2 separate regions of the Homo sapiens genome follow, and region 2 is linked to region 1. The links are contacts of gene promoters, found by promoter capture Hi-C in blood cells and fetal thymus (Javierre and others, 2016). All regions are on one chromosome and are shown on one strand. The core of a region is centred on a gene start or on the middle of the fragment in contact, and the rest is flanking DNA. Distances in the headings are between cores, read along the strand shown.

Region 1 (3,921 bases), core at 941-3,440:
CATCCTCCCAGAGTCCCAGTCTGGACCCTGCACCCGACTAGCACGGGCAGCCTGGCGGCTCCTGCCCTGGTGACAGCGGGCGTGTGCAGCATTGCCAGGAGGGAAGCAGGGGTAGCTGCAGCTGCTCAGGATCCTGCGGCTCCTCCCAGGTGCAAACACGGCTTTTGCTTCCAATGCCCCCGGCGGCATGTGCATCCTCTCCAGGGAAGGCCCTGGCTACAGGTCTCCTGGCCTGCGGAATGGGAATGATTCCAGGACCTGCGATGGTGGTAAGGACTTCCTTAGGAGATGAAGCCACCCAGGGGTCACCAGGGCCAGGCAGAGGCTGCCACCATCGCGTTCTAAGCCCTGCTGTCCACACTGCCATCCAGAGGCCCAGAACTAGGCTGGAGGAAGGACTTGCCTGGAGGAATAACCCAACCTGGTCAGATTAAGAGGAGGCGTAGACAGTGACGGGGTAACTATAGAGCCTCAGGCCGGGTTAACCTCAAGTCCAGCTTCCTAGGCCCAGGCAGCCCTGCCTGATCCCGCAGTGCGTGAGACCACACAGAGAGAGAGCGGGATCGTGGGCCCAGGCTCCTGACCGTGCTGGATAAGGTGTGCAGGCAGCCACGCCAGGCCCAGGCAAGAAGGAGCAAGCCTGGAGCATGTACTGAACAGGGGTCTGTGAGTCACAAAATGTGACGCAGCAGAGGGTATGTGGGGGAGGGCAGGGAAATGCACACTTGGATTGGGTCCCCAAAGCCTCCCTCTCCAGCAATGACTCAGTGTCTCTGGGTGAAGGAGCAACCTTCTCTGGGAGGCAGGGCAGGAAACCCCAAGAGCCCAGGGGGAGGGCACCCCACCTTCCTGCTCCAGCCCCACACAGCGGCTGAGAGCCCCAGGCACAGAAGGGGTAGGGAATGTTGCCACCACCCCCACCACGGACCCCGCTGCAGCTTCCAGGTGATGCCACAGGCCCTGAAATCAGGACACCCTTGCTGTACATGGGGGTCATCTTGAGGTTCTCTGCCAAGGATACTGACCTCTATGCCTGCCCCCAATTCTGCAGCTCAGGCACCTGGCTTCACCGCCAGGCCTTACCATGTGGAGAACAGGGGGCCGGGGTGGGGGGTCTGGGAGCCAAGGAAGGAGTGAAGCCCTCCAGACACCAACATCGCAGTCCTCGCCCCCTCCCTACAGACCCCATCCAGCCCAACTCCCCATGTGCAGCTAAAGCCACGCGCCCTCCTACCATACAAGGTGCAGGCAGCCCTCCCGCCTTCTTCAAAGAGGCATCTGCTCCGGCTCACTCCACCCTCCTCCCCCAGTGGCCTAACTAGTCGCCGGGTTCCAACCCTATCCCTTCTCCAGAGGTCATCTGGCCCCACCCAGCAGCCCAAACCAGTAGACCGGCCCTGCCCCATCACTTTGGTTTCTCCAGCATCCAAAGAACGTGGAGGGTCACCCCCCCAAAACAGCTGTCAAGGTCCAACAATTAAGCCATCTGTTGCCGCTCCCTGGGACTGGGAGAGGTGAGGTCGAGTTTCTTGGCGAGTTTCCTGCGTGCAGCCCCCACACCACAAAAGCCCCCGGTGCGAGCCGGAGCCCAGCGCGAGACGGCTGGAAGGGCGCGGGGAGGGAGCCGCTGCGGGGTGCAGGCGGGGAGAGGGGCGGCGGCTCGAGGCGCGGCCGGCGGGCGGAGGGTACGGAGGCGCCGGGAGAGCGTTCTCGGGGCGCGCTGCCAGGGTGCAGGAAGCCGGAGCGCGCGGGAGGGAGCGGGGAGCGGGATGCCGATTTCGGCTGGGGGCGGGGAGGCCCCTGATTGGGGCGCGGGAGGCGTGATGTCACGTCCGGCGGGGGAAGCCCTGCCTCGCGCACCCTCCGCCCCCGTCCCCGCCCCCACAGGTGGTGCCACCGCCCTGGGCGCTGGGCGTGGGGGGCCGCCCTCGGGGACCCCGGCCGCGGCCCCGCGCTGCCCGGCTCCGCCGCCTCCCGCCGGGGATCGATAGAGTCGCGCGGCCAGGCGGGCCCTCTGGGTCCCTAAGAGCCAGAGGAGCGCCCAGTGCGCCCCGGCCCGCGCCCCCGCGCCGCGCCCCGCCCCGCCCCGCCCGGTGCTCCCAGTCCCTCCCCCACCCCTGCGCTCCCACCCTGCCCCGCCCCTCTCCTCTCCCGCGGCCGCCTAGGGGCCGGGCCGGCGGCGGGGGAGGCGCCGAGCCGGGACTGCGCTAGCCCGCCGCGCTCTGGGCTGCCCGAGCGAGCGTTCGGACCTCGCACCCCGCGCGCCCCGCGCCGCCGCCGCCGCCGGCTTTTGTTGTCTCCGCCTCCTCGGCCGCCGCCGCCTCTGGACCGCGAGCCGCGCGCGCCGGGACCTTGGCTCTGCCCTTCGCGGGCGGGAACTGCGCAGGACCCGGCCAGGATCCGAGAGAGGCGCGGGCGGGTGGCCGGGGGCGCCGCCGGCCCCGCCATGGAGCTCCGGGCCCGAGGCTGGTGGCTGCTATGTGCGGCCGCAGCGCTGGTCGCCTGCGCCCGCGGGGACCCGGCCAGCAAGAGCCGGAGCTGCGGCGAGGTCCGCCAGATCTACGGAGCCAAGGGCTTCAGCCTGAGCGACGTGCCCCAGGCGGAGATCTCGGGTGAGTGAGGGCGCGGCGCCGGGAACCCGGGCCTGGCCGGGCTTTGGGCTCCGGACCCTGGTCTTCCCGACGCGGCTACTCGCCCCCGGCGCGGGATCCTGCCGCCTGCGCCCCGCCGCCCGGGCCCCGAATGGCTCCCTGCGCTGCGGCTCCTCTGCAACCCCACGGCCCTCGCCTCCAAGCCCCGCGCCGCACTCCCTCGCCAGGGTCTCCTCCGCCCCGCTCGGTCGTCCTCCGCCCCTCCCCGCCCCCCGCACGCCGGCTTCTTCCCTGCGGAGCTGATCTCGCCGGGCTGCGGGCTCGGGGCGCTCCTCCCGGGCCACGGCTGGAGCTGGGCGTCTTCTGCCCGCCGCTCGGCCCAGCGCGCCTGCAGGCCGGGAGTCCCAGCCCCGGGGCCGGCTGTCGGGGCGCTGTGGGGCTCGGCGTGGCCGGGCTTTCGGGGCGCCGCTGACGGTGGCCGCGGACCCCTTCTGCTCTGTACAGACCTCTCTGGGAGGCGTCTCCGGTCCTGCCCGGGGATTCTCGTAGGGTCTCCAGCAAAGGCAGCCTAGGTGGGTTTTATAAGCTGACCCCCTCGGGGGGTAGTGCGGAGGGGTGGGGAGGGAGCTGGGCACTTATCCGCGGGCGGAACGCCGCCGCCTCGTAGAGATTCCTGTCGAAGAACTTGTACGCGCCGGCCCCCGCCTGGCGCTTGGGCAGCCTCGTGCCGCGAGTCCAGCTGCAGGTGGTCGGCGCGTTGGATCCCGCCCAGGGGCCGTGTCATTTCTTTGTAAGAACAGCGGCCCTCTTGGCGCCCCCTAAGCCCTGCAGCCGCCTGCGGCTCTGCCTCTTCCCTCCCTGTGGTCCCGGAGGAGCTTTGGGGACAGAAGTGTACGGGTGGGTGGAACGGTGGGCTCCGTGTGCTAAGGAACTCTTGGAACCCAAGCTTCACCTTTCCACGTGTGGGAACCAACCTCGGTCTGTACCGCGTGCCAGGGACCCAGTGGGCAAGAACAAAACAGACTAGGTTCCTGCTCTGGGGGGCTCCTCTGAAACCAGGGGAGTGGGAGTGCGGGTGGAGGGCTACTCAGATGGGGACTCAGCGCAGAAATGCCCATGGTCCTGGGGATTCTGAGCAAGAAGGATCCGTGCATCTGGGTGAGGGGGGTCTGTGGCCATGCCTTGCCGCGGGGGGCGGAGTGGTGGGAGGAGGCAGTCGGGCTCTGGACCCCTGCCCCTCCAGGAGGAACAGAACCCACAGACAGCCCCTTGCCCTTGGTGGATCTCCCGATGCCCCCAGCCTGAGGTTCTTGTAAGGGCCCCCTGACCG
Region 2 (3,921 bases), core at 992-3,491, 260 kb before region 1:
TGTGGTTACAAGGTTGTTTATTAAGTTGAGATTTATTTTACCACTTTATTAAGTCAACATGATTGAGTCCATTGAGAATTTGATTTTCAGGGCGGATGCAGAAGCTTATTTATACAACTAAGATAATCATGAAAAAAATGAATCCATGGTTAATATATTTTAACTTAGTTTTGTTTAAAAGATTAAAGACGCCACTATGATCAAATTACTTTCTCATTGCTGGCTTGGGTTTTGGTGGTAGTTCCTTTAATCATGCCACATTATTTCAAATACTGGTGCCTCAATTAGATTATTAAAAGAAAACTATGCTGTTAATTGGATTGTGCAGGGAATAATAAGTCCTCTTTGACTTAGCAAAGGGTGGCTGCCGGGGGCCTCTGTCCTGTGCAGAGAACAGACTGGCTGCTTGATCCAAGGTTGAGTTTGTGGAGACCTCTGTGTGTTTTCCACGGGCCAGGCTGCCATGGAATAGATGTCTATTTCCGAGAACAAACTTTCATGATAGGATGATAAGGGCTGCTCCCCTAACACAGGCATTGACCATTTCAGTCTTTACCTACCAATCTCCTTGCATCTTAAATATATTTCTTCCATCTCTTCCTGTGATGTCCTCTTGTAGGAGAGTCTGTTCTGTAGAACACATCAGCGAACCAAGCCTTGGCTGAGGTTCCAGTGCTATGGGAGACTGCTGGGGACTGAGTCCCTGGCTCCACTGCACCCTGGGCTTATTTGAGTTGGGTTGTGCCCTTGACAGCCCCCATGGGAGGCAAGAGGGGTCAGCTTTCCATGCTGTAAACAAATGACCACAAATGTGGTACTTATAACACCACCACTTATTCTCTTCGTTTCTGTAAGTAGACATTCCAGGCATGGCTTAGCAAGGTCCTCTGCAGAGGGTCTCACAGGATGCAATCTGGGGTCACCTGGGCTGTGTTCTCATCTGCAGGCTCAACTCAGGAAGGACATGCTTCCAACTCCTGCAGGTTGTCAGCAGGATTCAATTCCTGTGCCTGTGGACTGCATGGCAGCTGCTCTTTTAAAGCCACAGGAGAATCTCTCACTCGACTCTGCAAAGACGCTGGAGTCTTACACAATTGCAGAGTGACGCCCAGCACCCATGTCACATTGTGTGACCTAGAAGCAAGCCACAGTCTCCACCACTCTCAAGAGGAGCAGATTATACAAGTTACCACTCACTGGGGGTCACTTTAGGCTGTGTGACATGCAGTGATTAAAATAAAGGGGCATTTTTAGCCAGGAAGGACAGGCAGAATTTAACGCCAGCCATGAAAAAGGTGGCTGGGAGGTGGAGGGAGAGGGGTCTGGAGGGCAGTGGTGAGCAGAGCTAAAAGCTCAAGGTAAAGGAATTTTGACTTGATGGTATAAACAGTGGGAGACAATCATTGTTTCTGAAGTTGCTTTTTTTATTTGAATATTGACATGTAGGTAGGTGGATAATGGGATTGGGCTGACCTCTTGACTTTCCTCAGCTTATAGAACCTCTAAAGGGTGGTCCCCACCCCTGCCCCATCTCCAGTCAGGCCCGTGCAGCGGCCTGACATCCACTGAACAGTTCTCACCAGCATCCTGGCCTGGCCACTTCCTTGGGTAGTCACGTTGTGGCAGTGCCTATGGCTTCAAATTCTCCGGGTGGTCCAAACCTTAGGGAGAATGAGCTGAGCAGGCTGTGGCAGCTGCGCGTCCTAGCCCTTCTGGCATAGAGCCTTCTCATTTGCCCAAGTGAGGCTTCTGTCATAGAATTTCAAGCATCCTTATTGTGGAAGTGTTTAGGTGAATGGGGCTTCCAGAAATTCCCATCACACCGCAGTCAGCTGCCTTGGACTCCTGGCTCCCCCTGGGCTGGCCTCACCTGCAAGGACAACGTCTGTTTGTCTGTTAAACAAAGCATCCTGTGGTACGAGGCCACGCTGTGAGGAGGGCTCTGGAATTTTCACACTTCTCTCCTGGGTGCCCTGTGGAAGAACAGGCGTTCTTTCTGATTCTGAGCTTGTCTTTGGCACACGTGTTTGTCCTGTCCTGGCTAGCATGGTGCAAACTAGTGTTTGCCAAGCGGGAGAGAATACCTGCCAAATGGGAAGTTCAGGGGAGACTGAGATGATTTGAACACTTAGTTTTCATGCATTCTTAAAATAACAGAGGTCTGAGAAACAACAACAAAGTAATCTTCTAGTTCTTAGTGTATTCAAATAAGCTGCTGTATTAGTCCGTTTTCATGCTTCTGATAAAGACATACCCAAGACTGGGTAATTTATAAGGAAAAAGAAGTTTAATGAACTCACAGTTCCACGTGGCTGGGGAGGCCTCACAATCATGGCAGGAGGTGAAAGGCATGTCTTACATGGCGGCAGGCAAAAGAGAATGGGAGACAAGTGAAAGAGGAAACCCCTTATAAAAACATCAGGTCTCTTGAGACTTATTCACTACCACAAGGACAGTGTGGAGGAAACTGCCTCCATGATTCAAGTATCTCCCACCAGCTCCCGCCCATCACACATGGGAATTATGGGAGCTATAATTCAAGATGAGATTTGGGTAGGGACACAGCCAAACCTTATCAGTTGCCTACTTGGAATATTCAGAAGGCCCAGAATAACTGCAAATGTTTCCTTCCCCAATTTGGTGTGTGGGGTTTTCCCCCAAGATGGAAATACTGTTACTATTCAGCGATTATAAACGTAATACATGTTTGAAGTTAAATGTTCAAACTTTACAGAGGTGTATATCATAAAAAAGAAAGTCCTCCACAATTTCCACTCTCATCTAGTTAATCACTATTACAATTATCAACATGTTCTTCTGTGCTTGTACAATTTATTTTATGTACCTGAAACCTGCTTTCTGTATTCGCTCTCTAACCTGTATAATTTACTTAGTACACCTTGGATATCTTCATATGTGTAGAGACAGCATTTTAGGGTTTGTTTTGGCCTCAACTAAACTCGGAGTTGAAATAAATTTAGGAAAGTGGATTTTTAACCTGATTGAGTAAATTCTTTCCTTTTGATTTTTTTTCCTCTTATTAATGTTCAGGTTTGGAGAGAGAGTACAGTTTTACTAAAAATGCATCACAAGTGAGCCAGAAAAATTTCTGATATATTAAACTTTTCTGATTAAATTTTAAAAACTAGTGGAAAGTAATATAATGATAAATGGGCCCCTTCCCACACTTCACTTGCCACCTCCATTTCTGACCTAACAGCGTTGGAAGAAAGGAAGGGGCAATGGGATAAAGGGTGGGCTCTGCTTCAGGCTCACACACGGGGAGGCACTGCTGGTGTTCTGCTTCCTGTCTGCTCAAGGCCCCGGGACAGACTGGGGCTGCTGCAGATGCAGACATCTTGAGCTGTCAGCAGGATGCCCTGTGCTTCACGAGGCCTCCCTAGGATGGGGCCATGGGAACCCATGCATGGAGTCCAGCAGACGTTGAAATAAAGACAACCTTGAGCCTCATTCATGCTGACAGGAAGGTCAATATAAATAAACCCATTTCATCCTTTCTTAACAGTTATATACTATCCCCCTGCGTCAAGGTACATCTTTAGGGATGGCCAAGAAGCGTTTAGTCGGTTATTCTGTTCACTCATTCAACACAGTATACCAGATGTCTAAAAGGTGATAAGCTCTGTTTCAGGCGTTAGGAATGCAGAGGGAACAAACAGGATGAAGGCGTTTCACCTTGTGGAGCTTTTATGAGTGTGTGTGTGTGTGCGCGTGTGTGTGTGTGCATGTGTGTGTGTGTGTGTAGGGGATGACAGCTAAAGAATGAATATAACACGTAGAACATTAGTGGGTGCCGTGGATGAAAATAAAGCAGAAAAGTGAATCAGGAGTGACTGTGTGCGTGTGTGTGTGTTTTGGGAAGGTGAATAGGGATTTTAAATAGGACGGTGGTCAGGAAAA

The links. The method cuts DNA at HindIII sites, captures the fragments that hold promoters and counts their contacts. A CHiCAGO score of 5 or more calls a contact.
Region 2: a fragment that was not itself captured here is called in contact with the fragment with the promoter of GPC1 in region 1 in 1 of 17 cell types (M2 macrophages); the score reaches 6.0 in M2 macrophages.

What each region holds. Positions count from the first base shown.
Region 1 is chr2:240,433,473-240,437,393 of GRCh38, forward strand. It overlaps GPC1 (glypican 1), which reads left to right and starts at 2,191. Exons shown (of 9, transcript NM_002081.3): 1 at 2,191-2,612. The coding sequence starts at 2,447. RefSeq lists enhancers at 560-854, 1,254-1,830, 3,564-3,921 and silencers at 1,660-2,319, 2,380-2,439. The HindIII fragment of the contact is 5,949 bases long and covers 1-3,535 here.
Region 2 is chr2:240,170,675-240,174,595 of GRCh38, forward strand. No RefSeq gene overlaps it. Among named protein-coding and RNA genes, the nearest start is that of OTOS, 32 kb to the left of the region's middle. The HindIII fragment of the contact is 4,278 bases long and covers 103-3,921 here.